Regions from separate parts of the Homo sapiens genome. Here regions 2, 3 and 4 are each linked to region 1. Evidence: promoter capture Hi-C in human tissues and cell types (Jung and others, 2019). All regions are on one chromosome and are shown on one strand. Each heading gives the region's core, a stretch centred on a gene start or on the middle of the fragment in contact. The rest is flanking DNA. Distances are from core to core; before and after follow the strand shown.

Region 1 (5,989 bases), core at 1,804-4,303:
ACCTCGTGATCCGCCGGCCTCGGCCTCCCGAAGTGCTGGGATTACAGGCGTGAGCCACCGCCCCCAGCCGACTTCTCTTGTTTTAAGTGGCTCTTAATCATTTGGTGGTTTGCATATTCCAAAAAGCTTCTAAATATTTGTGTTGAACCAATGCTTTCATTCAAAAACAGAATGCTTCTTGGGCTGAATGGCACTATGTCATCCCAACAAGAAGAACATCGGAATCTAATTGTGTCATCCATGTTCTTATTTTAAAACAATCTACGGTAACACCCTTCCAGCCATGAAGCGTTCAGTCAGTTGAACAGATGTGATGTGTTCTCCCTGATGCATTAGCTTCAACCTCTGAGTTCATGAAATTGAGTTTCTTTCTGTAGCATGCTGTGTTCATTCATCAGCCTGAGTCATTTTATCTGATTGGGTCCAATCTCCCCCTCCTTGGCCCGCCTCCTTTTGCTGCTGAATAAATCATCCTGGGAGCTGTCCAGGTTGGAGAAAGATTTTCATAGGAAAGTTCCAACTGCATCCAGCCCCTCATTTATTCAGGCTGAGTCCTTAGGGCCCCAAGGAGAAAGAAGTGAGAAAATAAAGTGATGCCTTCCATTGCCAAGTTTGCTAATATGGTCATTAGCACAGATGCCTTCGGGCAATGCCCGCAGAGAGAGGACACAGCTACCCACACATTCTGGCATAGGGTCTATAGGACAGCCTTCCCAGCTGTGCTCCGTCTGGGTTCCCATCTCAAGTTAAGAGACTCATTACCCACCCGAGTTCCAGTAGGGTGAGGCTGATGAGTCCAAGAAATTCAGGAAGGAAGAAGCAAGAAGCATTTCTTTGACAGGAATGTAATTGCAGGGGTTATTTCATTAAGGGCTAGATAACTGTAACACAGAGTTGTTTGAGGTACTTTTACCCTTAACTTCCAGGCCCATGGGATAGGCCAACTATTCTGGGAGATCTTTAATGTTAACAGATTAATTCATCTACAAGCAGAGTTAAAAATAGAATCAGCCGTCTATCTATTTAAAGTTGAGCGTTTCATTTTGGCTTTCTTGGGGGATGGTAGAATACAACTTAAAAGGATTGAAATTAAAGAAGTCTTTTCCAGGGAGTGAACGAAATTCTAGAAATCTACTGGTTAGGGATTGGGGGGAATATTAGAGGATTCTTTTCTCTTCCTTCTGGAATTCTGTGTGCAAGGCAGGTGGCCCGTTTTGGGTTTAACCCGAAGCCGAAATGCGTGGGGAGAAAAACAGGAATTAAAAAGCAAAGAATTAAACCCCGCGTTTCTGGGACACGGCCGACAGAAATAACCCTGGAGACAGTGTATGTGGTTGGGGGTGGGGGTATCGAAATTATTTTTCCTTAGGACAGGCAGGAGGGAAGGGAGCTTCTCTTCTTGCTCAGGAGGGACTGAGGGGGCGGCAAGGCAAGGCGGTCATTTGGGCTTTCATGGGACGCCACGGGGAGCCGCGAACGCGCCCAGGGCCTGACGTCATTGGCCATCAGCTGACTGTGCTCTGGGCCCGGGCTCCACTGGCTGCAGCCGCAGTCTTGGTGGAGGAGGTGGTGACCACCACCGCTCCTCCACCTGCATCCGGCTGCGGGACTGCGGCGGCCGCGTTTGCCCTGCAGACCCTGCACCCCGGGACGCGGCTCATCTGTCATTAGCACCGGCACTAAGCTCCCACCGCTCAGCGACTTGGTCCGCCGCAAGCTCCGCCGCAGGCTTTGTCCGCTAGCGCTCGGCTGAGTCTGGGCGGGCGGGAAACCTGGGCTAGGGCGAGGCGGGGCCCCTGGACATGCCTTTCTCCACGTCCGCCTCCTCGACCCTATTGTAAGCGGAGAAACTTAGTGTGCGAGGCAGGCAGGGGACGTCCCCATTTTGATGTCCCGTACCCTCCACCCCCTTCGGATCGAGGTAGTAAAGAGGCTCCTGTAGGAAACTGACTGCCTCTATGATTGCGGCCTCTTGGGGGATTTTGCGTTTAGCCCGAAAGTTGGCTTTGCCAAAAGACGCACGGGTAGGAAGGGCGAAAAGGAAACCCTGTATTCCGTCGCGCTGGGCTCTCCGAGTCCGTGCGCAAAGCGGCCTACGAGTCCTGGCTCCGCACCTGCAGAGGACAAGAGCCAATGCCTAAAAAAGAACAGCGGAGGAACCGGCTGGCGCGGCCAGCTGGAACGCTGGATCGCAGTGCGCCCAGGGAAGGCCGGGGGCGCCCGCCGGCCCTAGCCCTCAGTGGTCCTCTCCCACGCCGGCCCGCGCGTGCCTCTGCCTACAAGACCTGGGGCGTCCTGGCCAGATCTGGATGGCAGGTCCCTCCGCCACCCCCGGCCCGGTTCCGGGGGCGTGGCTTGGCGCGGGGGCGGGTTTAAGTCACCGCGGGTGTCTGACCACTCTGACAGGTCTCCAAATTTCTCCCAGTCGCCTGGCGCCCGCGGTGCGTTTCAGAGCTCCAGGGTGGCACGCGGCGGCGCTTCCCTAGATCCAGAGGCGTCTCTGTCGACTTCCACGCGGCCTCGGGCCTCCCTTCTCCTCCAAACCTTCGCCTCATCCGCCAAGCTTCGGTTCTCAGCCTCAGATATCCGCACCGGCGGCTTCTCTTCGTTCTCGGAGCTCTTGGCTTTGGAGCCCTCACCACTTTTTCCTTCCCCCGCCTCTCCTGATCCTCCTAGCTCCGAGCCAAATGGACTCCAAAGAACGAAATAAAGGGGATGAGAACTGTGTGCTGCGACCCTTCGAAAGCACAGCTGAAAGCGTTGACCTCGTCTTATAGCTCAGGCTGGGACCCTGGAGCGAGAGTCCCCACACCCCCTCCGGGAGGGATGCTTCTGGCCAGAGCCAGCGCTGCGCTGTCAGTCCTTGCTCCCGAACTAGGAAAGAGCCTAGGAGGGAGCCTCAGCATACCCCTTCCTCCAAATTAACTATTTGGTGAATTGTTAGCGCCGAGGCTACCACCTCTCCAACCCTGTCGCGGGGCGCCCCGCCACCTCACCGTGACCCCCTCCTCCTCCTTCTTTGCCCCCGCCCCCAGCTCCGCCCCTGCTCCCCATCCCGGCGCAATGGAGTTCTCCGAAGGGCGATGATTCCAGCCACATCTGCTAACTTCGCACCCATCGCTGCCGCCGGTCACCGCCGGCCAGGCCCCCTGCAGCCGCGGAGCAGTGGGCGTCCAAAGCCCAGTGCAGCAGCCAGGACCCGCCCGACGCGCAGCAGAAGCACGGCGCCCAGGCGCTTAGGCGTCTCTTGGAGAGCAAAGGCTGCGCCAAAACGCTGAGCCTAGAATCAACCAAGGAGCCTGAGCCCAGGAAGGGGCTGCGTGGCTCACAGCGCTGCGGCTCCTGAGGACAAATAGCCACTGCCGCTGCGTACCCAAGCTGCGCCGGCTGGCGGGAGAGCAGCACGCAAGGACGCCGAGGTCCGCCGCGATCTTCCAGGTGCCCTTTGCCCCTGGGCACAGTATGACCCGACCTACAGGGAGCCCTAGCGCAGGGCTCCTGCAACGGGGCAGCCTAGGATAAAAAGGATCCTTGCCAAGCTCCTACCAGGCCGCCTTTGAGTCTTTAGGAACCCCTCCTCCGGCTGCCTCCCCAAGGTTCTGGGCCTCCTTCCCTGCGGCCCAGAGCCATGGAGCTCTCCGATGTGCGCTGCCTTACAGGCAGCGAGGAACTCTACACCATCCACCCGACGCCCCCGGCCGGCGACGGCAGGAGCGCCTCCCGGCCGCAGCGGCTGCTGTGGCAGACGGCGGTGCGACACATCACGGAGCAGCGCTTCATTCACGGGCACCGGGGAGGCAGCGGCAGCGGGAGTGGAGGCTCGGGCAAAGCCTCGGACCCTGCGGGCGGCGGCCCCAACCACCACGCGCCGCAGCTGTCAGGCGACTCGGCGCTGCCCCTCTACTCGCTGGGCCCGGGAGAGCGAGCGCACAGCACCTGCGGCACCAAAGTCTTCCCGGAACGCAGCGGGAGCGGCAGTGCCAGCGGCAGCGGAGGCGGGGGCGACCTGGGCTTCCTGCACCTTGACTGTGCCCCTAGCAACTCGGATTTCTTTCTTAATGGGGGCTATAGCTACCGAGGGGTCATTTTCCCCACCCTGCGCAACTCCTTCAAATCTCGGGATTTGGAACGCCTCTACCAGCGCTATTTCTTGGGCCAAAGGCGCAAATCGGAAGTGGTGATGAACGTGCTGGACGTGCTGACCAAACTCACTCTCTTGGTCCTACACTTGAGCCTGGCCTCGGCCCCCATGGACCCGCTCAAGGGCATCCTGCTGGGCTTCTTCACCGGCATTGAGGTAGTGATCTGCGCCCTGGTGGTGGTCAGGAAGGACACCACCTCCCACACGTACCTGCAGTACAGCGGCGTGGTCACCTGGGTGGCCATGACCACCCAGATCCTGGCAGCAGGCCTCGGCTACGGGCTCCTGGGCGACGGCATAGGCTACGTGCTCTTCACGCTCTTCGCCACCTACAGTATGCTGCCGCTGCCGCTCACCTGGGCCATCCTGGCCGGCCTGGGCACCTCGCTGCTGCAGGTCATCCTCCAAGTGGTCATACCCCGGCTGGCGGTCATTTCCATCAACCAGGTAACTCCTGCCTGCCTTGCATTTGTTTCCCCTCTAACTTCCCCGGGTTATTGATCATATAGCTTCCAGAGAGCCAGGGTTGCCTCACTCTCTTTAAGTCTCCGCCTTCAGTCTGGCACAGTGCCTTGTACCTAGGAGGTCTTGAGTGTTAGCGGAATGCAATCTCTTCTTAAAGTGGAACTAAATGACCTCTAAAAGTTTCTACCAACTCTACCCTTCTACTCTGATTCTATGAGTAATTCTACTCTGACATCAGCTAAGAAAGTCTGCTTTCTGCTCCTCATTCCCCTCCCTCAGGGTCTGCAGTCTCCGGAGCAGGAGACAGAAGGGGAGGAGAAGCATCCAGATTTAGAAGGTGACCCATTCCTTAACATCTCTCCTCAGGAGAGTCGCAGCAGGGTGTTGTAGCAGGCTCTGGGCTTCAGAGTTGGGTTTTTCCGTATCTCTAAGCCACAAACCCTCAGTTCTCAAAGGAACATACATTTGTTAAACACATACTGATTGTCAGTGCTGAGTACTGTACGTGTTATGTCATCCAATCCTTCAAACAATCCTATGACACATGGTTTTCTCGGGAATTTTTTATTGCCTTGGTGACCAAACATGATATCTTCTCTCATGACACGATGCGACCCCAGTGCTTTGAATAAACCAACCTCAGTAATTGGGGGTGGCAAAGAATGCAAGTTTTGATTAATTGGAAAAGGGCATTTTGATGTAGATGCTTTAAATATTATATTTAGGTGGAATCTTGTTCTTTAGGTATCTTTCCCTCCTTTCTCCTCCTTTTTTTTCTATTCTTCCCCTTAAATATGGATATGCTTATGTGAACAAAGTTCACATTGTCTATGGATGAGAAAGTAGACAATGTTTCTATTGTTTAAATTTACTAGAACCAATAGCTAATTAATGGCATGGCACTGTCTTTGCAAAATGTATGGTAGGTAACAGGAGAGTGACTTTGGGGGTTTCTCAAAAATGAGGGAAACATGTCAAGTGAAGTGTTTTCAAACAGATGGCTGGTGTGAGATGCATGGTCAGGGGGCTGCTTTGTATGGGCCTGCTCTGTCGTTAGCCTCTGTATCATTTTTGCTGTATTAGAAGCTTAAAACTCCTCTTCCTTATGGTCGAATTTGAATAGATGATGCTTAGAATAAACAGGCACGACCCCACTGAAAATTGTTCATGATGTTTAGATTGCCAGCACTGTTAGAGTGCTTCACCCATCACTGGCCTCCTGGACTTCTGGTCAATGTGGGATCCTGTCTCTTCTCCAATGGTTCTATATTCCTTTGCTCAGGTGACTTATCTGGTTGGCTGCTTTTACAGTGCTTTCTGAAGTCTCTCTGGGTAAAGCAAAGAGTTTATAAATTACATGCCTGTGATTATCAAGCATGAAAT
Region 2 (5,989 bases), core at 1,362-3,861, 860 kb before region 1:
CCAGGTGGTTGCTTTCTCAAAGAGTCTACGGATCTCCAAAATAATTCTAGTGAAGTGGCTGTTAATATTCATGAGATATATCATTGCTTAACCAGTGGGGTTACTGCATGCTTCACTGGATTCTAGTTATTAACAACAGTTTCAATGAGTACCAATATTCCAAATAAGCAACAAAATAGCAAGAGTAGAATAATTCTATGACTTACAGCAAGGGTTGCTCTCGGAATTGTAGAGTCTGAGAGACCACAGTGATCACCTCCAACCCTTTGATTTTAATTAAAACTCGTACGGATTAACTGGCTTGGGCTTATCACTAAGCCTCTCAACCATTTAACATTAAAACAACCAATCAAACAAAAACACTTAGCTTATCTGAGCACAGTTTTCCTCCTAAGAGCTGTGAACTTCCTCCTAAATTCCTACAGAGAATAACAATTTTGCCATCTCTGTGTTGGATATATATTCTACAAACAGAATTTCAAAGAAATATTGTTGTCCACTGCACTATCCCAGCAATTTCGGCAGCTGTGACTGCCAAAGGAGAGAAAAGGCAAATATGAACACTATTCACCTCACACTGGTACCCCCAATCAATCCACAGCACATTTTTATTCAGTCATAAAAAATGTACCATGACAAATATTAACAATGACAGATAAAACAAACATTTCACTTGTCTTCCAGTCAGGGTGTGAAATCTGCATTCTTAACTATGTAAACTCCACCATGGCCCATCCTAAAATCATTTTGCAGAATGAACTCAACATTTGAAAAGAAACGAGTTTACTATATCCACTCTGTGAAGCTAGATAACCCTAGAACATAACTAAAAATTTTATTTCACAGGATAATTCTGGCATGTTACCAATAAATTCTACTTGAAGCCTCAACTTTCAATAGGTGCTTACCTCCTCCCCTTTGGTTTCTCAGAAAATAAAAGATTAGCATAGTGCTAGTCTCAGATATTCACTGAATAACGTGAACATGAATTTAGAAGTACTAAACTGGCAATAACAATGAAGATGATTGTAAATGATATTCCTCCAGCCAAAAGGAATAAAACAGAAATTTAAACTGGACATATTTACTGGATGCGAAGTCCAAGAACGTGAGTTAAGGACACACAGTAGTGTGTGAAGAAAACAAAATCCACAGTACCCACACATGTATGAGGAGTTAAAAGTAATCTCTACATCAGGACTATGTAAAGATTTGCCACAGGAAAATCTTTAAATCTCAAAAAGATATTTAAATATCTTTAATATCAATTTAAATTTAATATCCTTAAATATCAGGAAAATATCAATCTTTATAATATCAAGAAATAACTCATCTTTTCCCACCACTAGACGAAACGTGCATTGGAGACTGACCTGGAAATTCAGCGTCCCAGATGGCTACAAAACAAGGACAACTAGAAGTAGTTATGAATTCTAGGAAATATATTCACAAGTGTGTAAAGATTCTATAGTATTGAACACTTAGTCAAAGGAGTCCTACTTGAATTCTCAAATCAATGACAAAGTTGCTTCCTCTCTACCCAAGATCAGGAGCTTCCCTAGTTTGCACATATCCACATTGACCAGTGGCTATAAAGTCACACTGCGATTATCTGGGTCATTTTAAAATAGGTCATTAGCAGTACTTGTAGTATCGCGTCTGTCTAAAAATCCTCCAACACCGAGTGACTTTTAAACTTTGGGGTGCCTTGGTAACCCCAGGGACGCTTATTAGACATGCAGACTCCGGGGCCCAAGCTCCAGACTAATTCCATGGGAATAGGGCGGGTCCCGAAACCGGCATTTTTAATCATCTGCCCGGGTGAATCCGAAGTGTGGTCCAAAAGCCACAGTCGAGGTGCCTCTGCCTAACAAGCTCCACAGAAAGCTCCGACTTCAGCCGCCCCGACGGCGATACGGACGCCGAGTTAGGCTGTCGGGGGTCTGTCTGGCGGCCGCGGGAAGGGACTCGGGGCCGGCGCGTCCACTAGCGACGTCCGGCCCGAGGTGAGAAGGGACTGACAATGGTACCGCAGTTATTTTCAATATTTCCATAAAGTCCCACGAAGCCGTGTGGCCGTGGGAAAAGGGCTTTAACTTTGAAATCCCACGGGTCAGGTTACCACCAGCTCTGCCGCCTCCTAACAGCGCGTCCCCGCAGTTCCCTTAACGTTCGGGCCTCAGTTTCCCGATCCGTGCAACGGGCTCACGCCATCTCCGGAAGGCTAAGCCGAAACGAAACTAACTCCGCCGCTCGCAGACACTTCCTGGCTCTGCTCAGCGCGGCCCAGCCTCCCCAGCCGCCCGGGAGGAGTACCCGGCCCAAGCGCGTCGCGCAGGCAGTCGCCTCCCAACGCCCCCGGCCCTCGGCCGGCCACTCACGGGTAGGCATGGCGATCTCGACCGCGCTCGCCGCCGCACCGAGGCTCAGCGGGGCCGCGCAGGGAGCGCCGACGGCACCATGACGGCCGTTGCTGGGCCGCGGAGGCCGGAACGAGGCGAAGGGCGAAGGGCGAAGGGTGGAGGGAGCGGACGCGGACCCCGCGGTCACGCAACCAAGCGGGCGACAGCTACCGCCGCCAGCCCACTCCTCGCCGGGCGGCGCGACGGACGACCCACGCCCGTTACGTCAGCGCGCCGCCGCCGTCCCGGCCCCGCCCCCGCGGATGGCCGGGCTCGGCCCAGGATCCCTTGTCGAGCGGGTGGAATGGGTGGCTGGGGACAGCCACGTAGAACAACTTCGGGTGCCTTCTATTTTCCAAGCCTGGTGACCTGCGTGGCATTCGTTTTCCTTGATCTCTATTTGGAGTGCATCACTTTACGTTTGTGAGGATGATGGCTTTGAGCGCACGGAGTACCTGTGGGCTTTTTCTTTTGCAATCGGTTTAACTTGCAGTGCGTTTTGCATACTCTGAAAGCATGGTTTATTTGAGATGCACTAAGGTCATTTGGGGTGATGGCTGCTCATTTTTTGAGAGGGCAGAAAATGTAATTTCCTTTTGCTCTTGTGACTTTCAGAGCGACCTTATCCCTCAGGAGTTAGTCTCCTCTGGAGAGGGCAGCTCTGTGCACTTGGCTGAGCTACTCTTCTTGACTCTGGGTGTCATTAATAATTGAGGTATCTAATAGTCACCAAGCTGAGCAGACACCGGGAGCCAGAGAGCTGAGCAACGCACCTACACTATGCTAGGCGCCGTGGGCTGCGGACAGCCCATATGGAGATATAAAAGCCAACCGCAGAGGTTTAACACAGCCTTCCTCAAAGTGGGTCAAAGTGGTCCAGGATCCTTTTGTGCTTGGATCCCCTGGGGACTTGTTGAAAAGCAGATTCCTAGGTGCTGAGCCAAATCTACGAACACATATACAGATGATTTAAATACAATGATAATACTGAGAACCTTTGTCCTAAAAAGTAGGGCTAACCTTCTGATTAAGAAATGATATTGTGCAGTACTGGGAGGAGAAGATGAAGAACATGAAGATCAGAGCTAGGAAGCGCTGAGGAGAAATTAGTCTTGGCTTGAGGTGGACTTGGAAGAAAGCAGAATTTGAATTAGCAAAGCCTAGGGGAGTCCTAAAAGAGGCTGGGGAGAGGATGAAGGGTAATTTAGAGTGAGTCATGGCAGCTGGGGAGAGGAGAGTGTGTACTGTACCTATAAAAGAGACTGTCCAGCTGGGAACGGTGGCTCACGCCTGTAATCCTAACACTTTGGGAGACCGAGGTGGGCGGTGGGCAGATCACCTGAGGTCAGGAGTTCGAGATCAGCCTGGCCAACATGGCGAAACCCTGTCTGTACTGAAAATGCAAAAATTAGGCGGGGGTGGTGGCACATGCCTATATTCTCACTCAGCTACTTGGGAAGCTGAGGAAGGAGAATCGCTTGAACCCAGGAGACGGAGTTTGCAGTGAGCCGAGATCGGGCCACTGGACTCTAGCCTGGGCTACAGAGCAAGACTCCATCTCAAAAAAAAAAAAAAAAAAAGAGAGACTGTCCCTTGCTAACAGTAAAGACCAAACTACCTAGTGCTTATTCATGTTTTAATGCCCTGTTGCATATTTTATCACCTATAAAATCTTTCATGCTTCCAGTTTTCTCCCTAAGACTTTGGCATTATCTTGATTCCTCTCTGCTACAGCACTTTTCTCACTGCATCCTAAATAAACTGTCATGAGTGCTTGTGTTTTACCATGGGCCTATTTGCTTTTCAGAAAATGGCAAAAGCCATATTCTGTTCATGTTTATGTATCCTTGGCTGGCACACAGGTGGGGGCCAGAGTATATTAATTCAATATATAAATAAAGGATTTTATTCAAGAGTATGAAAACAAAAACAGGTAAATAAAACTGATAAACAACTTTACATTCAACCTTGGAATTTGTCTTTTAAGAAACTGTTCTGTGATTTTTACAAAAAGCATAACAGTAACATTAAATTATCAGAAGCAGGGCCTTGCAGGGGGAATGGTGTGGCAGAGAAACTGTGGAGGTAGGCAGCCAAATCGGAAGGCCCCAATACAGGAGAGAGTGTTAGGTGCTCAGTCTTGGTGGTGGCTGTGGAAAAAGAAAGAACTGAATCTTACTTTGGAAAAGAATCCCTGGATTTGTTGGCTGCTGACTTGGGAGCAATAGAGAGGCATCTGTTAGTTATGTAACTCCAAGGTTGGAACAAGGAAAGTGGTGGTGCTGGAGAGCAGTAGACCAGTCAGGAAGAAATGCTGTTTTAGGGAAGGGGTGTGAAGAAAGGTGTGAGTTTCTCCTTGACATATTGAGCTTGAGGTGGTATCAGAGGGAGACATCCGAGTGAATGAATCTGAAGGCAGCTGGGCAAGCCAGGATGAAGGTGGGCTGAGGGACCTCAGGGTGGGAGATTTGGAAATCTTTGGTCCCGGGACAGGAGCTGAAGCTGGGTGTCAAAGAGAGCCCTTTTAGGGAAGATGTGGAGGCAGTGAAGGCACAGAGAGACGAGATCCACAGGATACAGTGCCCCAGGAGCCAAGGGAAGACATGACTCCAAAAGGCAGACATCTCTGCTTACATTACCTTGAAAAAGATGCAGATCCCAAAGGCCCTGAAATTGTCCTGCACATACTGGTTGTTTTTTTGTTTGTTTGTTTTTCATTTCTTTCTGTTTTTAATCCTCTTGGTCTTTTGGTTTTGTATTGTTGCCAGAAATAAAAATCAGCAGCCAAAGATTCTGAGGAAGGACAGCTGAATGTCAGGAAAAATAGTGTCATAATGTTTTGATTATATATACAGTACCTACGTGGTTTTTTTTTTTTCCCTAGTTTGTGCACATTGGTAGCAATGTTACCATACTCTTTCCCTAACCTATCCTCTGGATCCGAGTTCTGCCGGTGTATCCACCACAGCCAGCCCCCGCTTCCTTTTTGATTTTTTTTTTTTTTTTTGAGACAGAGTTTCACTCTGTCGCCTAGGCTGGAGTGCAGTGGTGCAATCTCACCTCACTGCAGCCTCCACCTCCTGGGTTCAAACAATTCTCCTAACTCAGCCTCCCAAGTAACTGGAACTACAGGTGCATGCCACCACGCCTGGCTAATTTTTGTAATTTTAGTAGAGACGGGGTTTTGTCATGTTGGCCAGGCTGGTCTCAAACTCCCAGCCTCAAGTGATCTGCCTGTCTCGGCCTCTCAAAGTGCTGGGATGACAGGTGTGAGCCACCACGCCCGGCCCCCTACCCCCTACTTCTGAGAGCAGAGAGTCTGCCGTCATCTTTGGTACTTGGTCTTACCCCTCTTGGTGTATCCCCTTTTGCAAACACCCTTCCCCTTTCTATCCCCTCTGTGTCAGTGCTCCTCTCTTGGAGCCCAGTCTGGGCTGACAGGAACGAGGATTTAGCCATCTCTCTTGGTGCCCACACTGCCCAGCTCTTGTCCTGGACACTATGTGTGGTAGACATGGAGACGAGTCACCAGATCCCTTTAAGAGAAGACACACTGCCTTGGCATTTGAGCCACTTTAGTGTTTGAG
Region 3 (5,989 bases), core at 1,302-3,801, 830 kb before region 1:
CAATATATTTCCTTTACAACAATCTTTTCTCTGTAAATGGCTGGTCGGCTGATTCCTGTCACGTGCAGCTTTTAAAAATGGTCGTGAGGAAGGATGGGAAATTGATGCTTTGAGCCCATGCTTCCAGAGCATCTCAGTTGAGGAGTAATCACATTAGGAAAGATCCAGATCAGCTAAGGAAAGCAGCTTTAAATTTCCAAAGTTCAATTTAAATCTCAACTAAAAGGCATCTGCCAATCCTGAAAAAGCATGAAGATTATGTCTGAATTGCTTTCATCTTCAAACCTTCGGAGTCAGTAATCTGTCAGGGGAATGGGAAAGTCAAACTGCAGGAGACAATATGCATCTGCAGAAACATAATCCAATGATTGTTACATGCACAAGCTGACGCTCCAGAGAAAGGGAACAATGAATCCCTCCAGATAGCATTTTTTTTTGTGCCTACTCATTTCATTTCAGTCTTTACAGTGTTCAGTGGATGCTTATGAAAAAGGTCCCTATGGTGAAGAAATAGGGAGCTTTTCATTATACCGTTAAAATGGAAGAAAGGTGGGCACAGAAGCCCAAAATCGTGTCCCCTGAAATGAGCATAAGCGTTGAAATGCCCAATGAACCAAGGGAAGAGCTTGAAAATGGTTTTGAAAATGCCTTGGCACTTTCTAAACACAATTTCCTGTGTATTGGCTTTAAACTGTAGGAAAATTATTTGCAGAGTGTGTAAACAAACAGAAGCAAATGCTTTGTAGAGGCAGTTGTTAGATAAAAATATTCTGTTCAACTGACAAGCATTGCATCCAACTTGTTTTTATTTTGTTTAAATCCCAATCTGTCCAAAAAGAGATGTAAGCAAAAAAAAAAAAAATTATTAGCAACTACTCTGTAAAGAAAATAACACCAGTTTCAATGGGGGAATTCAGAGGTGGAAAGCACTCTCATTTCTCAGGATACTTTTCACCAAGGAGAGGAAAGTTTATATGTATCAGCCAGAGTTCTTAATTGCAAGAACGAGTCATTTGTTTTGGTTATCTCTTGCTGTGTAATAAGTGACCTCAAAACATAGTGGCCTAAAACAATAATTGGTTGTTATCTTTCATGGTTCTATGATTGACTGGGTTCAGCTGGGCATTTCTGGCTTGCAGGGTCTCACATAGCTGCAGTCAGATGTGGGCTGGGGCTGCAGTCAGATGTGGGCTGGGGCTGCAGTCATCTGAGGGCTCACGGGACTGGATGTCAGGACTGCTCACTCCATGGCTGACAGTTGATACTGGCTGTCATCTGGGACCTCCACTGGGGCTGACACAGGGCATCTACTTTTGGGGAAGCATAATTTAAAACAAATTTATTTTCCCAACACAGAAAATCTGTCCACAAAAGTAGTAGATAAATAAAAGTTTTATTATTGAATAAACATTAAACCAGAATACAATGCACATCACAGGCAGTCCACTAAGACACTGCAAAGACGGAAAAAACATCTCACCCTTTTATATAGCCAAGCAAATATCACCCATTGCATGCTTGTTTTCAAGATAAACAATAACTAGCCATCAAGTAAGACGACTTGACAGTACCATATGTCATATTTAGTTCATCCTGACTTTACCTGGTAATCGGGCGACCATTTGTGGTAGCTAACTTCTTATATCTCTGTAATAGGAGGTGTTTTGCAACTTGGATCAAGATACCCACCAAAGTTAGATTACTATTCTCTCACAGAAATTGGGAGGTAGGGGTGCTGTCTCCCTTGATGTTCCATTTCAAAGAGATGGCTCCCAGTCCCTAGAGGAAGGTATTACTGGATCATACTGCTGAGAAAAGGCCTACCTAGTCTTTAAAACAATTTATCTAGAAAAAAGGACTTATCCCCTCAAAGAAGGAGAAAGTATTTAAAATGACAGGTTTTTCCAAAGGAAATGCTATGAAAAGATGGGGAGGGAAATTTATTCCCTTATTTTCAATAGGGAGAATTAAGCCTCTTACTTTTAATTTGCATTTGTCCTGACATTATACATAGTTTCTCCATGTGGCTTGTTTCTCTTTTTCATTAGTTTTATTTTATTTTAATTGATGCATAATAATTCTATGTATTTATAGAGTACAATGTGATGTTTTGATAAATGTATCAATTGTGGAATGATTACATCAAGTAAATTAGCATGCCCATCACCTCAAATATTTATCATTTCTTTGTGGTGAGAACATTTAAATCCTCTCTTTTAGCTATTTTGAATTATACATTATTACTATAGTCACCATGCTGTGTAGTGAAACACTAGAATTTATTCCTCCTTTTGATCTGAAACTTTGTACTAGTTGAGTAACTTCTCCTTTCTCCCTGTTCACCTCACTTTCCCAGCTTTTGATATCAAAAAGAGGAAAGATAACAAGTGATGTAGAGAAAAGGGAATCCTTGTAGGATGTTGATGATATTACAAATTAGTACAGCTATTTTGGAAAACAGTATGTAGGTTCCTCAAAAAACTAAAACTAAAACTACCACATGATCCAGCAATCCCATTTCTGGGTCTCTACCCAAAGGGATTGAAATCTGTGTGTTGAAAATATTTCTGCATCCATGTTCATTGCAGCATTATTCACAATAGTCAAGATATGGAAACAACGTAAGTGTCCATCAATGGACGAGTGATTTTTTAAATGTAATATGTATGCACAATAGCATACTATTCAGCCTTTAAAATGAGAAATTATGTCCTTTTTAACAACATAGATGAACCTAGAGGACATTACACTAGTGAAATAAGCCAGGCACAGAGAGACAAATATCTTTTATGATCACACTTACATATGGAATCTAAAAAATTCCAACTCCTAGGAGGAGGGAGTGGGATGGTGGCTTGAGTTTCTGACAGCATGGCAGCTGGGTTCCAAATGAGAGCTTCCAAAGAGCCGTCATTTCAAGGAGCACAGGCGGAAGCTTAAGATTACCTATGACTCAGTCACGAAAGGCACAGCATCACTGCACTACATTCAGCTGTGAGTGCATCCCAGGGCCAACCCAGATTCAAGAGGAGGGTTCAGCACAAGGTTGCGGATACTGGGAGGTAAGGCTCACAGAGGGCCATCTTTGGAGATCAGTTATCATACCCTTCTAGTATCCTTGAGCAGAAAAGAAATGTATTACAGTAACAAGTAACTTAGGAACTCCCAAGGAAATCAAAAGAATCAGGTTTGAAAGCTTCATTTTCAAGAATTATTCCCTAAAACACAATGCAAGGCTGATACAGTAGACCTCATTGATGTCAAGCCTGGACATGGACACAGGATGCTAGCCTCTGTACGCTTGAACCTCTGCTACTTCACTCCCAGACCTCTGGGAAAAGGAATTCTATGTCCTGGTGGCTGCCTCCCATTGTTCACTTTTGAATAGACATCTTGAACCAGTGCGTCTATTGGTAGAACCTATTGGTGGACTCACATAGCCAAGTATTCACTAAGAATAGTTTGCGAAAATGAGATTCTGATTTGTTCCTTGGGCTGATGGTGTTTACGTAAGGTGTTTGCCCAGTTACCCACATCAGATTCTTGGGAATCTTCAATCCCTATCTTCTGTTGCCACATCCAGTCTTATGATCAAATCATATCAACTCTATTGAAAATAAAAGCTTTGATGTAGTCATAAAAATAAAACATAAAATTAAATAAATAAAATAAAATAAATCTCTGGAAATCATCCATCTTTCTCATCCCAACTTCAAAAATCTTTATGCCTACATAGATGAAATGAAACTACTAAGACGGTAGAATTTGATTTTTAATTTTTTTCATAATTTGCTAATTTGTTCTATTTTTTCAACAACTAAAAGTAGAAAAAAGCTATTTGCCTTCTCGTGGGTCTATTTAATTTACTGAACTTTAGAAAACCCTTCTTTGCTTCAACCCCATTGGTTGAAAAAGGGATGTAGGTCACATGTCCTCTGAAATTCTTTCCCACTGTATCAATGAGAGGATTTATTTATTTTTTAATACCAAAGAAGATGGGAAAAAAAATGTCTGCATTCCTATAGACTGGAGTGATCTTGAGCTCTTGCACACAGATTTAGTGTGTTGACCAAGCACCTAATCCCTTTTCACAGAGATTGCAACTGCATGCCCTTCCACTCCACCATCTGAGACCAGGCCTTTCTTGTGCCTTGCAGTAAATCAGTATTGTCAGAATTTCTGATTATCATAACCTCCCAAAGTAGAAGCTCATTATTCTCTTCCCATTCCAGGCTTAACAAAGTTGGGTCTAATTAAAACCTTACAGGACTCTCCGTATTAGGGATTTTTAAAAAATTTTTTATTATTATTTTTTATTTTATTATTATTATACTTTAAGTTTTAGGGTACATGTGCACAATGTGCAGGTTAGTTACATATGTATACATGTGCCATGCTGGTGTGCTGCACCCATTAACTCGTCATTTAGCATTAGGTATATCTCCTAATGCTATCCCTCCCCCCTCCCCCCACCCCACAACAGTCCCCAGAATGTGATGTTCCCCTTCCTGTGTCCGTGTGTTCTCATCGTTCAATTTCCACCTATGAGTGAGAACATGCAGTGTTTGGTTTTTTTGTCCTTGTGATAGTTTGCTGAGAATGATGGTTTCCAATTTCATCCATGTCCCTACAAAGGACATGAACTCATCCTTTTTTATGGCTGCATAGTATTCCATGGTGTATATGTGCCACATTTTCTTAATCCAGTCTATCATTGTTGGACATTTGGGTTGGTTCCAAGTCTTTGCTATTGTGAATAGTGCCACAATAAACATACGTGTGCATGTGTCTTTATAGCAGCATGATTTATAGTCTTTTGGGTATATACTCAGTAATGGGATGGCTGGGTCAAATGGTATTTCTAGTTCTAGATCCCTGAGGAATCACCACACTGACTTCCACAGTGGTAGAACTAGCTTACAGTCCCACCAACAGTGTAAAAGTGTTCCTATTTCTCCACATCCTCTCCAGCACCTGTTGTTTCCTGACTTTTTAATGATTGCCATTCTAACTGGTGTGAGATGGTATCTCATTGTGGTTTTGATTTGCATTTCTCTGATGGCCAGTGATGGTGAGCATTTTTTCATGTGTTTTTTGGCTGCATAAATGTCTTCTTTTGAGAAGTGTCTGTTCATGTCCTTCGCCCACTTGTTGATGGGGTTGTTTGTTTTTTTCTTGTAAATTTGTTTGAGTTCATTGTAGATTCTGGATATTAGCCCTTTGTCAGATGAGTAGGTTGCGAAAATTTTCTCCCATTTTGTAGGTTGCCTGTTCACTCTGATGGTAGTTTCTTTTGCTGTGCAGAAGCTCTTTAGTTTAATTAGATCCCATTTGTCAATTTTGGCTTTTGTTGCCATTGCTTTTGGTGTTTTAGACGTGAAGTCCTTGCCCATGCCTATGTCCTGAATGGTAATGCCTAGGTTTTCTTCTAGGGTTTTTATGGTTTTAGGTCTAACGTTTAAGTCTTTAATCCATCTTGAATTGATTTTTGTATAAGGTGTAAGGAAGGGATCCAGTTTCAGCTTTCTACATATGGCTAGCCAGTTTTCCCAGCACCATTTATTAAATAGGGAATCCTTTCCCCATTGCTTGTTTTTCTCAGGTTTGTCAAAGATCAGATAGTTGTAGATATGTGGTGTTATTTCTGAGGGCTCTGTTCTGTTCCATTGATCTATATCTGTGTTTTGGTACCAGTAGCATGCTGTTTTGGTTACTGTAGCCTTGTAGTATAGTTTGAAGTCAGGTAGCATGATACCTCCAGCTTTGTTCTTTTGGCTTAGGATTGACTTGGCGATGCAGGCTCTTTTTTGGTTCCATATGAACTTTAAAGTAGTTTTTTCCAATTCTGTGAAGAAAGTCATTGGTAGCTTGATGGGGATGGCATTGAATCTACAAATTACCTTGGGCAGTATGGCCATTTTCACGATATTGATTCTTCCTACCCATGAGCATGGAATGTTCTTCCATTTCTTTGTATCCTCTTTTATTT
Region 4 (5,989 bases), core at 2,307-4,806, 780 kb before region 1:
TCAGTAGGGGAGCTTTTGAGCCAGTATGAGCCAGGAGAAGGAATTTCACAAGATAATGTCATCAGTTAAGGCAGGAACAGGCCATTTTCACTTCTTTTGTGGTGGAATGTCATCAGTTAAGGCAGGAACCAGCCATCTGGATGTGTACATGCAGGTCACAGGGGATATGATGGCTTAGCTTGGGCTCAGAGGCCTGACATTCCTGTCTTCTTATATTAATAAGAAAAATAAAACGAAATAGTGGTAAAGTGTTGGGGTGGTGAAAATTTTTGGGGGTGGTATGGAGAGAGAATGGGCAATGTTTCTCAGGGCTGCTTCCAGCGGGATTAGGGGTGGCGTGGGAACCTAGAGTGGGAGAGATTAAGCTGAAGAAAGATTTTGTGGTAAGGGGTGATACTGTGGGGTTGTTAGAAGAAACGTTTGTCATGTAGAATTATTAGTGATGGCCTGGATACGGTTTTGTATGAATTGAAAAACTAAACGGAATAAAAGAAGGAGAAAAACCGGTATTAAAGGACTAAGAATTGGGAGGACCTAGGACATCTGATTAGAGAGTGCCTAAGGAGGTTCAGCATAGCCTTGCCCGCAAAGATTATTTATTTACTTTAAGAGTTAAGAGCGGCAGTTTGGGGATAGCACCAGGAGATATCAGCGGTGATGGCTTGGAGAAACAGTGTAAACCGGCAGTGTAAACAAGAGCAGGGCATATATGAGTAGTTGAGAACGGTGAATAGGAGTATGACTAGACAGAAGATAGTAGGGATGACAAGTTTTTTGGGGCACAGTCTAAGTTGGTCTGGTGTCTGGAATGAGACTGGGGCTTAATAAAAAGGAGTGTCCATACAGGAGCTCAAATGGGCTGTACCTTGTAGCATTCCAAGGACAGGCCTGAATTCTGAGAAGGGAAAGTGGTAAAAGTATTGTCCAGTCCTTTTTAAGTTGGTGGCTGGGCTTGGTGAGGTGTGTTTTTAAAAGACTATTAGTCCATTCTACCTTTCCTGAAGACTGAGGACCTTAAGGGATATAAAAGTTTCACTGAATATCAAGAGCCTGAAAAAATGCTTGGCTGATTTGACTAATAAAGGCTGGTCTGTTATCAGACTGTATAGAGGTGGGAAGGCCAAACCGAGGAATTATATCTGACAGAAGGGAAGAAATGACTGCGGTGGCCTTCTCAGACCCTGTAGGAAAGGCCTCTACCCATCCAGTAAAAGTGTCTACCTAGACTAGGAGATATTTTAGTTTTCTGACTCGGGGCATGTGAGTAAAGTCAATTTGCCAGTCCTGGGTGTGGGCAAATCTCCGAGCTTGATGTGTAGGGAAGGGAGGGGGCCTGAATAATCCCTGAGGAGTAGTAGAATAGCAGATGGAACACTGAGAAGTTATTTCCTTGAGGACAGATTTCCACGATGGAAAGGAAGTGAGAGGTTCTAAGAGGTGGGCTACTGGCTTGTACTATAGCATAGCCTGCCTTTGCTGGTGTGTGGCGATTAGGCCTGGTGGAACTGCCGTCAATAAACCAAGTGTGATCAGGGTGAGGAACAGGAAAGAAGGAAATATGGGGAAATGGGGTGAATGTCAGGTGGGTCAGAGAGATACAGTCATGGGGGTCAGTTGTGGTATCAGGAATAATGTGGGAGGCCAGATTGAAGTCCGGGCCAGGAACAATGGTAATTGTGGAGACTTAACAAAGAGTGAGTACAGCTGAAGGAGCCAGGAAGCAGAAAGTATATACGTCAGGTGTGAGGAATAAAATAGATTTTGGAAGTTATGAGAAATGTAGAGAGCGAGTTGAGTATAGTTTGTGATTTTAAGGGCCTCTAAAAGTATTAGGGCGGTGGCGGCCCCCGCACGCAGACTTGAGGGCTAGGCAAAACAGTAAGGTCAAGTTGTTTGGATAAAAAGGCTACAGGATGCAGTCCTGGTTCTTGTATAAGAATTCTGACTGCACAGCCCTGCACTTCGGCTGTGGGTAATGAAAAGAGTTGGGATGAGTCAGGGAGAGCTAGGATGGGGCAGTCTCTAAAGCTGTCTTCAAGGAATGGAAAGAGGAGTGGGGAAAGGATTTAGGATCCATGGGGTCAGCTAGGTTTCCTTTTGTGAGTTTATATAATGGTTTTGTTAGGATGGCAAAACCAGGTATCTAAAGGTGAAAGTATCTAACTATGCCTAGGAAGGAAAGGAGTTGTTGTTTTGTAGAAGGTGTTGGGGTTTGAGAGATCTGCTGGACATGATCGGCAGGGAGAGCACGTGTGTTTTTATGAGAATTATGCCAAGATAGGTAACAGATGAGGAAGAAATTTGGGCTTGACTGAAGTAATAGGGGCTGTCTGTGAAGCTTTGTGGCAGTACAGCCCAGGTAATTTGCTGGGCCTGATGGGTGTCAGGGTCAGTCCAAGTGAAAGCGAAGAGAGGCTGGGATGACGGGTGTAAAGGAATAGTAAAGAAAACATGTTTGAGATCTAGAACAGAATAAAGGGTTGTGGAGGGAGGTATCGAGGATAGGAGAGTATATGGGTTTGGCACCACGGTGTGGATAGGCAAAACAATTTGGTTGATAAGGTGCAGATCCTAAACTAATCTGTAAGACTTGTCCGGTTTTTGGACAGGTAAAATGGGGGAATTCGAAGGAGAGTTTATAGGTTTTAGAAGCCCATGCTCTAGGAGGCAAGTGATAACAGGCTTTAATCCTTTTAAAGCATGCTGTGGGATGGGATATTGGCATTGAGCGGGGTAAGGGTGATTAGGTTTTAATGAGATGGTAAGGGGTGCATCATTGTCACCAAGAAGGGAGTAGAGGTATCCGATACTTGTGGGTTAAGGTGGGGGGATACAAGAGGAGGATGCAAAGGAGGCTTTGGATTGGGAAGAAGGGTGGCAATGAGATGTGGCTGTAGTCCAGGAATAGTCAGGGAAGCAGATAATTTAGTTAAAGTGTCTCCGCCTAATAAGGGAACTGGGCTGATAATTAAAAAGGAGTGATAATTAAAAAGGAGTGCTTAAAAGAGTGTTGTCTAAGTTGGCACCAGAGTTGGAGAGTTTTAAGAGGTTTAGAAGCCTGGCTGTCAATACGTACAACAGTTATAGAGGCAATGGAAACAGGCCCTTGAAAGGAAGGTAATGTGGAGTGGGTAGCCTCCGTATTGATTAAGAAGAGGACAGACTTACCTTCCACTGTGAGAGTTACCCAGATCATCTGTGATGGTCCTGTAGGCTTTCGAGGTGATCAGGCAGTGTCAGTCTTCAGCTGCTAAGCCAAGAAGGTCTGGGAAGGAGTCAGTCAGAGCCTGGGGCCAGAGTTCTAGGGGCTCTGGGAGTGGCTGCCAGGTGAGTTGGACAGTCCGATTTTCAGTGGGGTCCAACGCAGTTGGGATACAGCTTAGGAGGAATCCCAGGCTGTGGGCATTCCTTGGCCCAGTGGCCAGATTTCTGGCACTTGTAGCAAGCTCCTGGGGGAGGAGGTTCTGGAGGAACCCCTGGCAGCTGTGGTTCAGGCTTTTGGAGTTCTTGTGTGCTGGAGACGTGGCTGGGGTTTGTCTCAATGGAGGCAAAGAATTGCAACTCAGAAATACATTGCTACTTGGCTGCCTCTACTCTATTATTGTACACCTTGAAGGCAAGGTTCATTAAGTCCTGTTGTGGGGTTTGAGGGCCAGAATTTAATTTTTGGAGCTTTATTTCATGTCGGGAGCAGATTGGGTAATAAAATAAAATGCATATTGAGAATAAGACGGCCTTCTGACCTTTCAGGGTCTAGGGCTGTAAAGCATCTCAGTGTTGCTGCCAAACGAGCCATGAACTGGGCTGGATTTTTGTATTTGATGAAAAAGAGCCTAAACGCTATCTGATTTAGGATAAAGAAAAAGGAGCATTAACCTTGACTATGCCTTTAGCTCCAGCCACCTTTTTAAGAGGAAATTGCTGGGCAGGTGGGGGAGGGCTAGTCAGGGAACAAAACTGTAAGCCAGACCAAGTGTGAGGAGGGGAGGTGATAAAAGGACTATAGGGTGGAGGAGCAGAGGCTGAGGAAGAATCGGGACCTAGCTCAGCCTGGCAAGGAGGGGAGAGGTCAGATGGGTCTGTAGAAAAGGAAGATTAGAAAGACTCAGCGACGCTTGGGGTTGGGACTGAGGGGACAGGCGGGAGGGAAAGATGGAAGATTTGGGACTAGTTGCATTGGGAACAGAGACTAGGGAGGGACCAATGTGTAAAAGAATGCCTGGATGTCAGGCACCTCAGACCACTTGCCCATTTTACGACAAGAATTATTTAGATCTTGTAGGATGGAAAAATTGAAAATGCCATTTTCTGGCTATTTGGAACTACTGTCGAGTTTGTATTGGGGTCAAGCGGCATTGTAGAAGAAAATAAGGCATTTAGGTTTTAGGTCAGGTGTGAGTTGAAGAGGTTTTATGTTTTTAAGAACACAAGCTAAGGGAGAAGAAGGGGGAATGGAGGTCGGAAGCTTGCCCATAGTGTAAAGGAAAATTACAGTCAAAGGGAGTTGTTCTCTGGTGGGCAGGTGTTGGGTCACAAGGTGCTCAGCAGGGGAGCTTTTGAGCCAGGATGAGCCAGGAGAAGGAATTTCACAAGATAATGTCATAAGTTAAGGCAGGAACAGGCCATTTTCATTTCTTTTGTGGTGGAATGTCATCAGTTAAGGCAGGAACTGGCCATCTGGATGTGTATGTGCAGGTCACAGGAGATATGATGGCTTAGCTTGGGCTCAGAGGCCTAACAGTAACTACTTTTGTTCATCCACTTATTCATTTATTCAATCACAAACATTTATTGACAATACTTTGTGTTCTGTTTGGAACCATGCGAGGAATAGGGGTTATTGGGTCTGATGCAGTGTGTCTCTACCTTAACACTATTGACATTTAGGCTGGATAACTCTTTGCTGTGAGGAGCTAGTCTGTGAATTGAAGGGTGTTTGGCAGCATCTCTGGTCTCTACTTACTGGGTGCTAGAAGCAGCACCTAGTCGTCTCAACCAAAAATATCTTTGACATCACTGAATATCTCCTGGGGGTCAAAATTGCCCCCAGTTGAGGATCACAGATCTAATGTATAAAACATTGCTTCTGACATCAACATTAAACAGAAGTCAGTAAAACTGATAACCACAACAACAATTAAAATGGATGAAACACCTCCATTTGGTCAGGTTTTTGCCAGGTACACAATCTTATTCAATGCTTACAACAACTGTATGCTATAAGAGTAAATATTTATTTATGGATCTCTAAAGGTTTATAATGGGTAAGTCTATATTTCCATATGTGTTAATTATAACCTTCTAAAAGCAAGAATCAATATTTAAAATGTTTGAAGGGGAATGAGGGCACCTACATTTTAAGTGATAGCACAAGCTAAAATTAAAAGCCTAGTTTTAAAGAAGTGTTAGATTATTTTATATAGTAGAAATGATAAAGCAAAAAACTCTCGTATGATAATACGTGGCTAAGGTTTTTCCTTTTTTGTGCTTTAGTTTATATTGGCTACATTTTTCACTGTATGCATTGTGTGTTTCTTTTTAATAGTTTTTTTTCTGAACACACATTTATGTTAATGTTTTTATTGAATAACACTTACATTGTACCTTTCTTATCACTGATACAATAAACATAACAGGATTTTGGGGGACTTCAGAACAGTAATTAATACTTGAGTTTCAGAGTACAAAGTCACCTTAGTAGGCATCAAATCCAAACTACCCAGTTTATGGATGAAAAATACAAAGCTAACATTGGGGAATTGAATTGCTCTAGGTTAGAGGGTTTGCAAACTATGGCCTATGAGCCAAATTTGGCTTGTCACTTGTTTTTGCAAATAAAGTTTTATTGGAATACAACAAAGCTCATTTGTTTACATATTATCCATGGCTGCTTTCAAAGTACAACAGAGTAGATTAGTTGCAACAGAAACTATATGTCCTTCAAAGCCTAAAATATTCACTATCTGTCCCTTTACAGAAAATGTTTGTC

The links. The method cuts DNA at HindIII sites, captures the fragments that hold promoters and counts their contacts. A contact is called where the count stands out against the background at its distance.
Region 2: a contact is called between the fragment with the promoter of EFR3A here and the fragment with the promoter of ADCY8 in region 1, in 2 of the 25 tissues and cell types used here (mesendoderm cells and thymus).
Region 3: a contact is called between a fragment that was not itself captured here and the fragment with the promoter of ADCY8 in region 1, in 2 of the 25 tissues and cell types used here (H1 embryonic stem cells and dorsolateral prefrontal cortex).
Region 4: a contact is called between a fragment that was not itself captured here and the fragment with the promoter of ADCY8 in region 1, in 1 of the 25 tissues and cell types used here (dorsolateral prefrontal cortex).

The regions. Positions count from the first base shown.
Region 1 is chr8:131,037,973-131,043,961 of GRCh38, reverse strand. It overlaps ADCY8 (adenylate cyclase 8), which reads left to right and starts at 3,053. Exons shown (of 18, transcript NM_001115.3): 1 at 3,053-4,588. The coding sequence starts at 3,629. LOC105375760 (a long non-coding RNA gene) reads right to left here and starts at 4,432. Exons shown (of 6, transcript XR_928653.3): 1 at 4,352-4,432. RefSeq lists enhancers at 2,775-3,313, 3,314-3,853. The HindIII fragment of the contact is 7,762 bases long and covers 1-4,128 here.
Region 2 is chr8:131,900,715-131,906,703 of GRCh38, reverse strand. It overlaps EFR3A (EFR3 homolog A), which reads right to left and starts at 2,611. Exons shown (of 23, transcript NM_015137.6): 1 at 2,382-2,611. The coding sequence starts at 2,391. RefSeq lists an enhancer at 1,615-1,664 and a silencer at 2,235-2,714. The HindIII fragment of the contact is 11,078 bases long and covers 1-5,989 here.
Region 3 is chr8:131,871,323-131,877,311 of GRCh38, reverse strand. The region is part of intron 2 of LOC107986976 (a long non-coding RNA gene); the gene reads left to right. Among named protein-coding and RNA genes, the nearest start is that of EFR3A, 30 kb to the left of the region's middle. The HindIII fragment of the contact is 6,814 bases long and covers 1-5,958 here.
Region 4 is chr8:131,818,906-131,824,894 of GRCh38, reverse strand. No RefSeq gene overlaps it. Among named protein-coding and RNA genes, the nearest start is that of EFR3A, 82 kb to the left of the region's middle. RefSeq lists an enhancer at 4,325-4,826. The HindIII fragment of the contact is 4,930 bases long and covers 1,092-5,989 here.